Linked DNA regions of Homo sapiens: region 2 is linked to region 1. Evidence: promoter capture Hi-C in human tissues and cell types (Jung and others, 2019). All regions are on one chromosome and are shown on one strand. Each heading gives the region's core, a stretch centred on a gene start or on the middle of the fragment in contact. The rest is flanking DNA. Distances are from core to core; before and after follow the strand shown.

Region 1 (4,383 bases), core at 1,450-3,949:
TGTTCTACTGTTACCTTCCAATAAACAACTATGCTGGAAATTAGATCTTTCAAGACTCAAATGGTTTAAGAATTCAAGGTGTCCGCCGGGCACGCTGGCTCACGCCTGTAATCCCAGCACTTTGGGAGGCCAGGCGGGGGGATCACGAGGTCAGGAGATCGAGACCATCCTGGCCAACATGGTGAAACCCCGTCTCTACTAAAAATACAAAAATTAGCTGGGCGTGGCGGCGCGTGCCTGAAATCCCAGCTACTCAGAAGGCTGAGGCAGAAGAATCGCTTAAACCAGGGAGTCGGAGGTTGCAGTGAGCTGAGATCGCGCCACTGCACTCTAGTCTGGTGACAGAGAGAGACTCCATCTCAAAAAAAAAAAAAAAAAAGAATTCAAGATGCCAAATTTCTGATACTTGCCTACATAAATTTTATGGCTGAAATACGGAGTTACGCTAGCCTGCTTAAAAAGACTCTGTCGAAACTCGCTCCGTTTTATGGAGGAGAATTTAAATGGTATTGCCACCATTTAACTAATTTTTCCTGAACTGGTAGTGATTCTGCAGTTCTATCTGCAACTGTCACCCAGTTCTAGTCTCCTTTTAAAACATCACACATTCGTGGGGCAGTTGGCGGGGGTTATTCTGCAGCCAAATAATGTGAAGCTAACTAGAACTGAACCAATGCTCATTTGGCAAGGACACCTGAACTCTGAAGCACTTCGTAAACAGCTGATTATTTCTAGTAATACTCCTGTGAAGTTTCAGTATTGAGCCATCCACTGTATTTCATTGCCAACTATATGTCGCCTTAAAAACAAGAAAAGTGCAAGACAGTTCCCTGGTTATTTGAGTCAGAGTCTCGCTCTGTCGCCCAGGTTGGAGTGCAGTGGCACAATCTCGGCCCACTGCAACCTCCACCTCCTGGGCTCAAGCGATCCTGCCACCTCAGCCTCCCGAGTAGCTGGGACCACAGGCGGGCGCCACCACGCCAGGCTATTTTTGTATTTTTTGTAGAGACCGGGTTTCGCCATGTTGCCCAGGCTGGTCTCGAACTTCTAAGCTCAAGTGATTCGCCCGCCTCGGCCTCCCAAAGTGCTGGGATTACAGGCGTGAGCCCCGGCGCCTGGCCAGTTCCCTGGTTAAAAAAAACTCGCAAATGTAGTCCAATTCGTCTTAAGTGTAAATACCTACCACCTGGGGCAAGACCCAACTTAAAAGGGAGGGGCGCCTCACAACAGTTAACCTGGCACCAGTGATTTGGTCCGAGAATCTTAGGCTTTTAAAGCTCAAGTCCAAACCTTTATTCTACAAATAGATTTTAAATTAAGGGCTTATGGTCTGGTTATAATCGCTAACTCTTACACTGTACTATGTACTTAGTACAGTTCTAAGTGCTTTACACCTATTTACTCCTTTAATCCTCCCAAAAAACCTGAAGCCGAGTGAAGCCAAGTAGTTTGCCCAAGGTAACACAGATATCAAGTGACGAGGTTAGAATTCAAATCCAAGCAGCATAGCTTCAAAACCTAGAGTCTTAAACCACCTGACTCTACTGCTCTTCTAGGACTCAGAGTTCTAATGTGAGAAAAGAATCCTCTATAGAGCTTTCTTTCAATTCCACCATCGCAAATGAATTGCAAACCTGTGACTCAAAAGTTCTTCCTGTGTGCAACCTTAAGTAATCTGACTTTTACATCCAAAATGGGTAACCTCTCTGGAAAACTAAAAGATGCAATGGCCAGTCTGAAAAGAACTCATGCTTCCCGTTGTTAGTGGGGTTCTGTTGTGTTGTTTTTTAATTGCAACACCTGAAACGCCTTAAAACACAAGTAAACAGGCTATCAGCCATTTTCCTGAGAACAGCAAACACCTATTACACTTTCATGATGCCTAAATTGATGAATCTGAGCTAAATACAGGAACGGCTGTCTTTTTCCCAGCTGTCTCTAATATATTTGGAAGACGGTAGACTCAGTTTATGCATGTGAATGTATGTGAGAAATGAGGGGGAAGTGGAGGGTGAGGAGGGGGAAGTGGAGGGTGAGGAGGGGGAAGTGAAGGGTGAGGAGGGGGAAGTGGAGGGTGAGGAGGCTATTCACTCCTCCACCTCTCCAAAGCGGGGCGACTCAGACTCAGACCCTGCTGCTAGAACTTAAAACCAGTATCACACCATTTCTGCCTTGGCCGGCTTCAGTGCCTCTCCAGGCTGTAGGGAGGTGGCTACGTGGCGCTAAGAGGACTTCCCCCAGCCAGAGAGGAGGTGGCAGCCCCAGGTGGTGGCATCCCCTCGCCCGGGGCCCCGCGACAGGGGGCGCCAGGACTTCCCGGGGATCCCCCAGGAGGGCAAAGTCTGAAGTGGCTAGCCTGGAGCCGCAGTTGGGCCAGGGCCTGCCTAGCAGCCCCTCACAGCCTCTGCGACCACTCCTGCCAAACCAACCTCCCAGCCTAAAGGGTTAGCCGACGCGCCGGGGACGGGGCCGGGCTCCTGAGGCAAAGGCACCCAAGACGAACGCTATATTCTGTGGGACACTCACCAGGTTGAGGGGTCCTTCCATTACTTCCATAGACCCCGGGGTAAGCGGCGGCCTTAGGAAGGGGAGTAGTGGCGCCGGGGAACATGGAGGGGACTGCAAGGGAGCTCGACGCAGCCGCGGAGACTGCGGCCCCTCTCTGCGCCCCAAGAGCCAGCGATAGGCGCTGAAGGAGCAACAACCTCACCACTTCCTCCTCCGGCGCCGCGCCGCGGGCCCGCCCCCTGCGCCACCGCCGAGGCCACGCACGGCGCCATGACGTCACACGCGCAAAAGGCTGGTTCAAGGTGGGAATGAGGACAGGCAGTGGGTGGGGCCCAGGGAAGGCGGGGCACCAGCTGATGTACGCTTGCGAGCGGTCAATCTTTCCTCTCGCGAGAAGCGTTAGTTTAGGTTCTTAAAGTCTACACTGAAGTCACGTGAGGAGGTACAGCCTTGCTGTTGAAGACTTGAAATGGCTGTCTTCTGCAATTAGCTTCTCACGTTTCCTTTTAGACTGACTTTTCCTTAAATCTGCTAATCGTTACACCGTTACTTGTGGTCCTGTCCACACCTTTATCATTGTACATGATTCATTTTTTCAAAAGGCCGATTTGAGCAATTCTAGACCATGCACTGGACTAACCCCCCTAGAGGTCAGCACACTCGAATGATTTAGGGCTCTGCCCTCAAGTTGCTCACAAACTGATAGGGAAACAATTTTGGTCTAGCCAAATATAATACTGCATTCATTTAACAATTATGTGCCAAACAAAAGCTAGGTTCGTTCTGTCATGGAATTCACTGACAAATAGTTGTGATTTATGCTGGAAAGGGAACACATAGGGAGCTGTGATAGAGTAACCAAGGTGGAGTTGGGTGGTAAAGGAAAGCCTTTCATGGGGGGCGTGATTTTTTTTGAGAAAGTGTCTTGCTGACGCAATCTCCACTCACTGCAACCTCCCTCTGCCCGCCCCCTGCCCCAGGCGATCCTCACACCTCAGTCTCTTAAGTAGCTAGGAACTACAAGTGCTCAGGCCAGGTTAATTTTTGTATTTTTTGTAGAGATGGGGTTTCGCCATGTTGCCTATGCTGATCTTGAACTGCTGAGCTCAAGTGAGCTCAATGATCCGCCCTCCTGGACCTCACAAACTGATGGGATTATAGGCATGAGCTACCGCACCTGGCTAAGGGCGTAATCTTTAAGATTAAACCTTAAAATGCCAGTTAAACAAAGACCCTTCTCGACAAAGGAAATGTCTTATGCCTCAACTCTAAAGGCGGGGAGGTCGGGTGGCGGGAGCTGCAGCATTTCAGAGAGATGCAAAAGAAGATACCAGAGAGATAGGAAACTTCCAAAACATAGGTGTCCTTGCAGTGCACAATGAAACATTTGAATTTTACTCAAAGTGCATTGGGAAATAAGTAAAGGATATTAAGCTAGAGAATAATCTGCTTTAATTTACAGTTTTGAAAAGATTAATTTCCCTGTAATGTGAAGAATAGATTGTGGAAGGCCTAAGGAAAAAGAACCAAGACAAGCTAGTTGATTGACTAATTATGGGCGCTCAGACTGGAATGGAAGTAGGGAAGATTGGGTCATGCATCCACTCATTACATAGTTATCATGTTTCTACCATGTGCCGGAAACCTTGGAAGAGAAGTAGATATATTCAAGATATATTTTTGGGCATCAGGTTGAGAGGAGTTAGTGATGGAATGGCAGTAAAGCATACAGAAAATGGAAGAATCAAATCTCGTATTTAAACAACCAAGTGGCCTAGCACACTGGCTCACCCCTGTAATCCCAGCTCTTTGGGAGGTCAAGGAGAGCAGATCACTTGAGGCCAGGAGTTTGAGACTGGTCTGGCCAACGTGGTG
Region 2 (4,314 bases), core at 548-3,047, 1.1 Mb after region 1:
TTGCTATACCTGGATTGCTTGGGCAGTTTAAGTCCAAAACAGCCATGGACTTCATTGACTGCTCAACAAACCATGTAAGTAAACACTTTTGTAATCCATTCCAATACATGCCCAGTCTTACTCACTCTGTTTCATACTTGTGAATGCTGGAGTAATTATTAATGCTCCTGATCAAGGTTTTAGTAATTTCTTAGGCATGTGATTTGCATAGCTATTTCCTGATCCGCCGTCTCTCTCTGCCCTGGAGGTCTTCATTTCTCAGAAACACTTAAAAACAGATTATTTTACTTCTACCCTTCCCCCAACCCATAAATGGAACAGGACTTCCTAGCTCATCTGTATTGCTAATTGGTTTGAAAGCATGTGACTCCATGCATTCTTGCCATTAAAACACAAGCAAGCCTTTTTTGAAGTCAGCTTTACCAGCAGTGATAGGCAGATTTCTATCTTTGTTCCCCCACTGTGTCTTGAGGCAAGGGAGAAATGTAAATGATCACGTTATTTAAATATTGTTCTGAAATCATGTAGTGAATTCCAACGTAATATAAAAATGTTCTAGAAGTCTGTATAATAGGGGTGTCCACAAACACACTGGCAAAGAAGAAAGGGATTATAGATGCTTTTCACTACTGCTTGAGAAACAAGGGGAAAATCTGGGAGCTGAATCTAGGAGTGAGGAGACAGTCTGGCTTTTCAGAGGATTGACTCTCTAAGGGGAGAATTCTGGAAATAGGAAAAGAGATTGAAATCTATGCCAGACCTTTCCAACTCTCACCTTCTCTCTGGTCTATTTGGCTGTCTGCAATATCCTCCAGGGGAAACCATTCTTGGTGGAGGGTCCCCTTGTAAGAAGTGGACGTGGTAGCTCATGGCTGCTGTGCAAGAGCCTATGCATCTTTGGGATAATGGGGTCTATATACCATAGCATGGACAAGACCACAGCCTAGGTTTTCCTGAGGATCAGGAGCCTATGGAAAGAATCCTTTGTCTTGGAATTCCATATATTCTTTTTTTTTTTTTTTTTTTGGGACAGACTCTCGCTCTTTCACCCAGGTTGGAATGCAGTGACGCGATCTTGGCTCACTGCATGCTCCACCTCCCAGGTTCACACCATCCTCCTGCCTCGGCCTCCCGAGTAGCTGGGACTACAGGCGCCCGCCACCAAGCCCAGCTAATTTTTTTTTTGTATTTTTAGTAGAGACGGGGTTTCACCGTGTTAGCCAGGATGGTTTCGATCTCCTGACCTCGTGATCCAACCGCCTCGTCCTCCCAAAGTGCTGGGACCACAGGCGTGAGCCACGACGCACAGCCAGAATTCCACATATTCTATAAAGAGACATCAGGGCAGAGCGGACATCTTAGGACTTAGCTCACACCTAAGGGTGTGGCGGTGGTGCTATCTAGGAGCTGATACTGCACGCAAAGGGTCTGTTTTCTCAGCCCATGCCACCCACCAGCTAGCTGCAAGGTCCTGTCAAGTCACAAATTCAGTAAAACCAAAAGTGGACTCTCAAAATGCCATCAAGGCTCAAACTCCCACTTTCACATTTACCTGGCAACTCCTTTCTCCTATTCATCTCTCCAGATGCCAGGTGTCCACGAGCCATTTCCAGGCCCCAGGCTCCTCTCTCAATGGAGATCATGCACAGAAGCTATTACAATGAGAATAAGCATGTTGTTTCAATGCTATACTATGTGTTTTTTTCTTATGACTTTGAAATAGCTCCTGTTTTCATTTTTTGAAAACTCTTCTATAAATACAGATTTAGTCTTTCTTGGTATGGTTCTATATAATACAAATATAATATTAACAAGATAATTGTCTTTTTTTCTTAAGGCTGTTTAAGGATCTGCTCTGGAAATGTGTTTTAAGGACATTTTGATTTCCACAATTTCTGAAGGTTGTACAGATAGAACCTCTTAAACAAAGAGAGTTAATTTTTTGTCTCTCTCTTTTTTCTTTTTGTTACAATCAATAAATCTGCTCGTTCTAGTCTATGATTGATATGTTCTTTGGTGTTACTATTGAACATGACAGCACAGAAGTGAAAGCAACATTTTTGTACTGAATAGCCTTGTAAGAGCAGTAAATATCAGAACAGTTTTTAAACTCATTTATAAACAGGACATTCTTGTTCAGCCATTTCTCCAGGTTTGGAAATGAGATATTCCATTTCATCATTGAGGATAACTGATTTGCTACCTCTCTACAGAAAACATTCCCCACTTGGAAATAAGTAAAAGAGATGGATTGTTTTTGTTTTTGTTTTGGTGTGTATGTGGATTAACATGGAGATATTTAACTTATGACATACTTGGATGAGTATGTCATGGGATACATTTTAATATTTAAAAGACATACACATAAGAAACAGTTATCAAGTGATAGGCTCCCAATTCTTTTAAAAAGATCCAAAAAGGAATTTGTACAGAAAGGGGGCTTTTCACTCACTTTGTGCTTTTATACCTTTCAGAAAGAATAATGTGAATAGTAGGATAGTCTTTTACTTAAAAGTAAAAAGATGACTATTTTTGGTTGTCTGAGATTCGGAGACATTTTTCTTTGTTCAGGCAAATCCCTCTCACCCTTCCTCCCTATGAGGGCACCAGCACCATCCCCAACTAAGTACCTCAGTGGTCTCTGAGCTTCATTTGTTTGTGCAGGTACCGGAGCCAAGATACTGGAAAATGACTTTAAAAACTCTTCTGTGGTACCAAGAACCTCATGCAAACTCACAGATTGTATAGAAGAGCGTGTGTCTTGGAGCAGGGTGGGGTGAGGGTACAGAATGAGAAGAGCTTTGGGGCCTGGAGTGGGCGTGGAGAGGCAGCAACAAGGTTGATAATACCTGGTGACATGTTAACTAAGGGCAGATTATAAGCCGTGGGGCAAGCTAGAGTGATCACTCAATTGGAGGGAGGGTTTGTTACACTATAGAGAAACAGCACACAGATACCATCAGAAACCCTAATGTAAAGCTAACAATGAACCCAGAAGAGGTTACAGCTTCTTTACATTTTTCACTGTAAGATAAAACATTTCTATGACTATTTAGAATTGCTGTGTCTGATACAGTCACCGCTAGCCACGTGTCCCTTGAGTATCTGAAATACTATATGTCAAGTCCAAATTGAGATGTGCCGCAGTGTAAAATACACACTGGATCTCCAAGACTTAATACAAAATAAAAGTAAAATATCTCATTAATAACATTTTATATTGATTGCATATTGAAATGATAATATTTTGAATATACTGGGTTAAATAAAATATATTATTAAAATTAACTCCACATGTTTCTTTTTACCTTTTAAAATGTGGTTACTAGAATATTTTAAATTACATGTGGCTCACATTATCTTTCTCTTGGGCGATGCTGGTTTAGTCAATAATTCAATGTTATGATTATAGATATGTTCTTGGAAATATGTGTTAAGGAGCAGACAGAACAAGATTAACATCTGAAGCTAGAATAATCAGCAAAAGTCACGATTCAATGTTTCAATACATTTAAGATTTTATTCACTGTTATGGAGGGTAGTCATGTAAAAACGTTATATATAGTTATATATACACATTACACACATATATATATATATAATGTTATAATAGTATCTAAAAATTTTTCTTAAGCTGAGGTCTCCCTTCTGTAAAATTCAAATCTGGTAATCATTGACTCAAGGCTACTAAATGGCCCTGATGAAGATGTTATTTCATTAACTTTCTTAACTAAGATGTCAAAGTAAATGTTAAGCTTTGACAACAGACTGGAGAAGAGACAGAAAGAGAGAGAGAGTGAGAATGGAGAGAGAGAGGGGAAGGAACTAGCTAATTATTTATTTCATGACTTGTTCTCTCCTGCTGTCAATATGGGTCGGGTATAATGTAAGCCATTTTCATCATCCAGTACAAACTGAATAGGAGAAAATGGAGCTGGAGTGATTTTAGTTGCTTGGAAGTAGACACTTCTTAATCTCCAACTATTGAGTAAGTTAATGGTCTGACTTTTTGGACATTTCATCTGAGAATAAATAGAGAGGTCAGTTACAGTCAGGCCTAAATGCAGGGGCATAGCCTCATTGGCTTTGCCAACCTGCTTCAGGTCCCATTTATGACAAAATATGAGATTATTCATTGAAGACTGGCATTCCAATAAGCCCAGAAAAGTTGAACAGAACAAAAAGGTTTGAACTCTGGGGGCAGGGAGGAGAAACATTCTTTCCGCAATCATTCTTAGCACCAAAAAACCATCAGGCATCACTGAGAAGGCGGCTGCCCGGTGCTCAGTTTGCCCTGTGTCCCATCCTCCCAAA

Evidence for each region. The method cuts DNA at HindIII sites, captures the fragments that hold promoters and counts their contacts. A contact is called where the count stands out against the background at its distance.
Region 2: a fragment that was not itself captured here is called in contact with the fragment with the promoter of NRBF2 in region 1 in 1 of the 25 tissues and cell types used here (aorta).

What each region holds. Positions count from the first base shown.
Region 1 is chr10:63,131,644-63,136,026 of GRCh38, reverse strand. NRBF2 (nuclear receptor binding factor 2) reads right to left here and starts at 2,699. Exons shown (of 4, transcript NM_030759.5): 1 at 2,527-2,699. The coding sequence starts at 2,556. RefSeq lists silencers at 2,153-2,422, 2,633-2,882. The HindIII fragment of the contact is 15,309 bases long and covers 1-4,383 here.
Region 2 is chr10:62,039,627-62,043,940 of GRCh38, reverse strand. All of the region lies in intron 4 of ARID5B (AT-rich interaction domain 5B), which reads right to left. Among named protein-coding and RNA genes, the nearest start is that of ARID5B, 140 kb to the right of the region's middle. RefSeq lists an enhancer at 2,703-2,762. The HindIII fragment of the contact is 4,679 bases long and covers 1-4,136 here.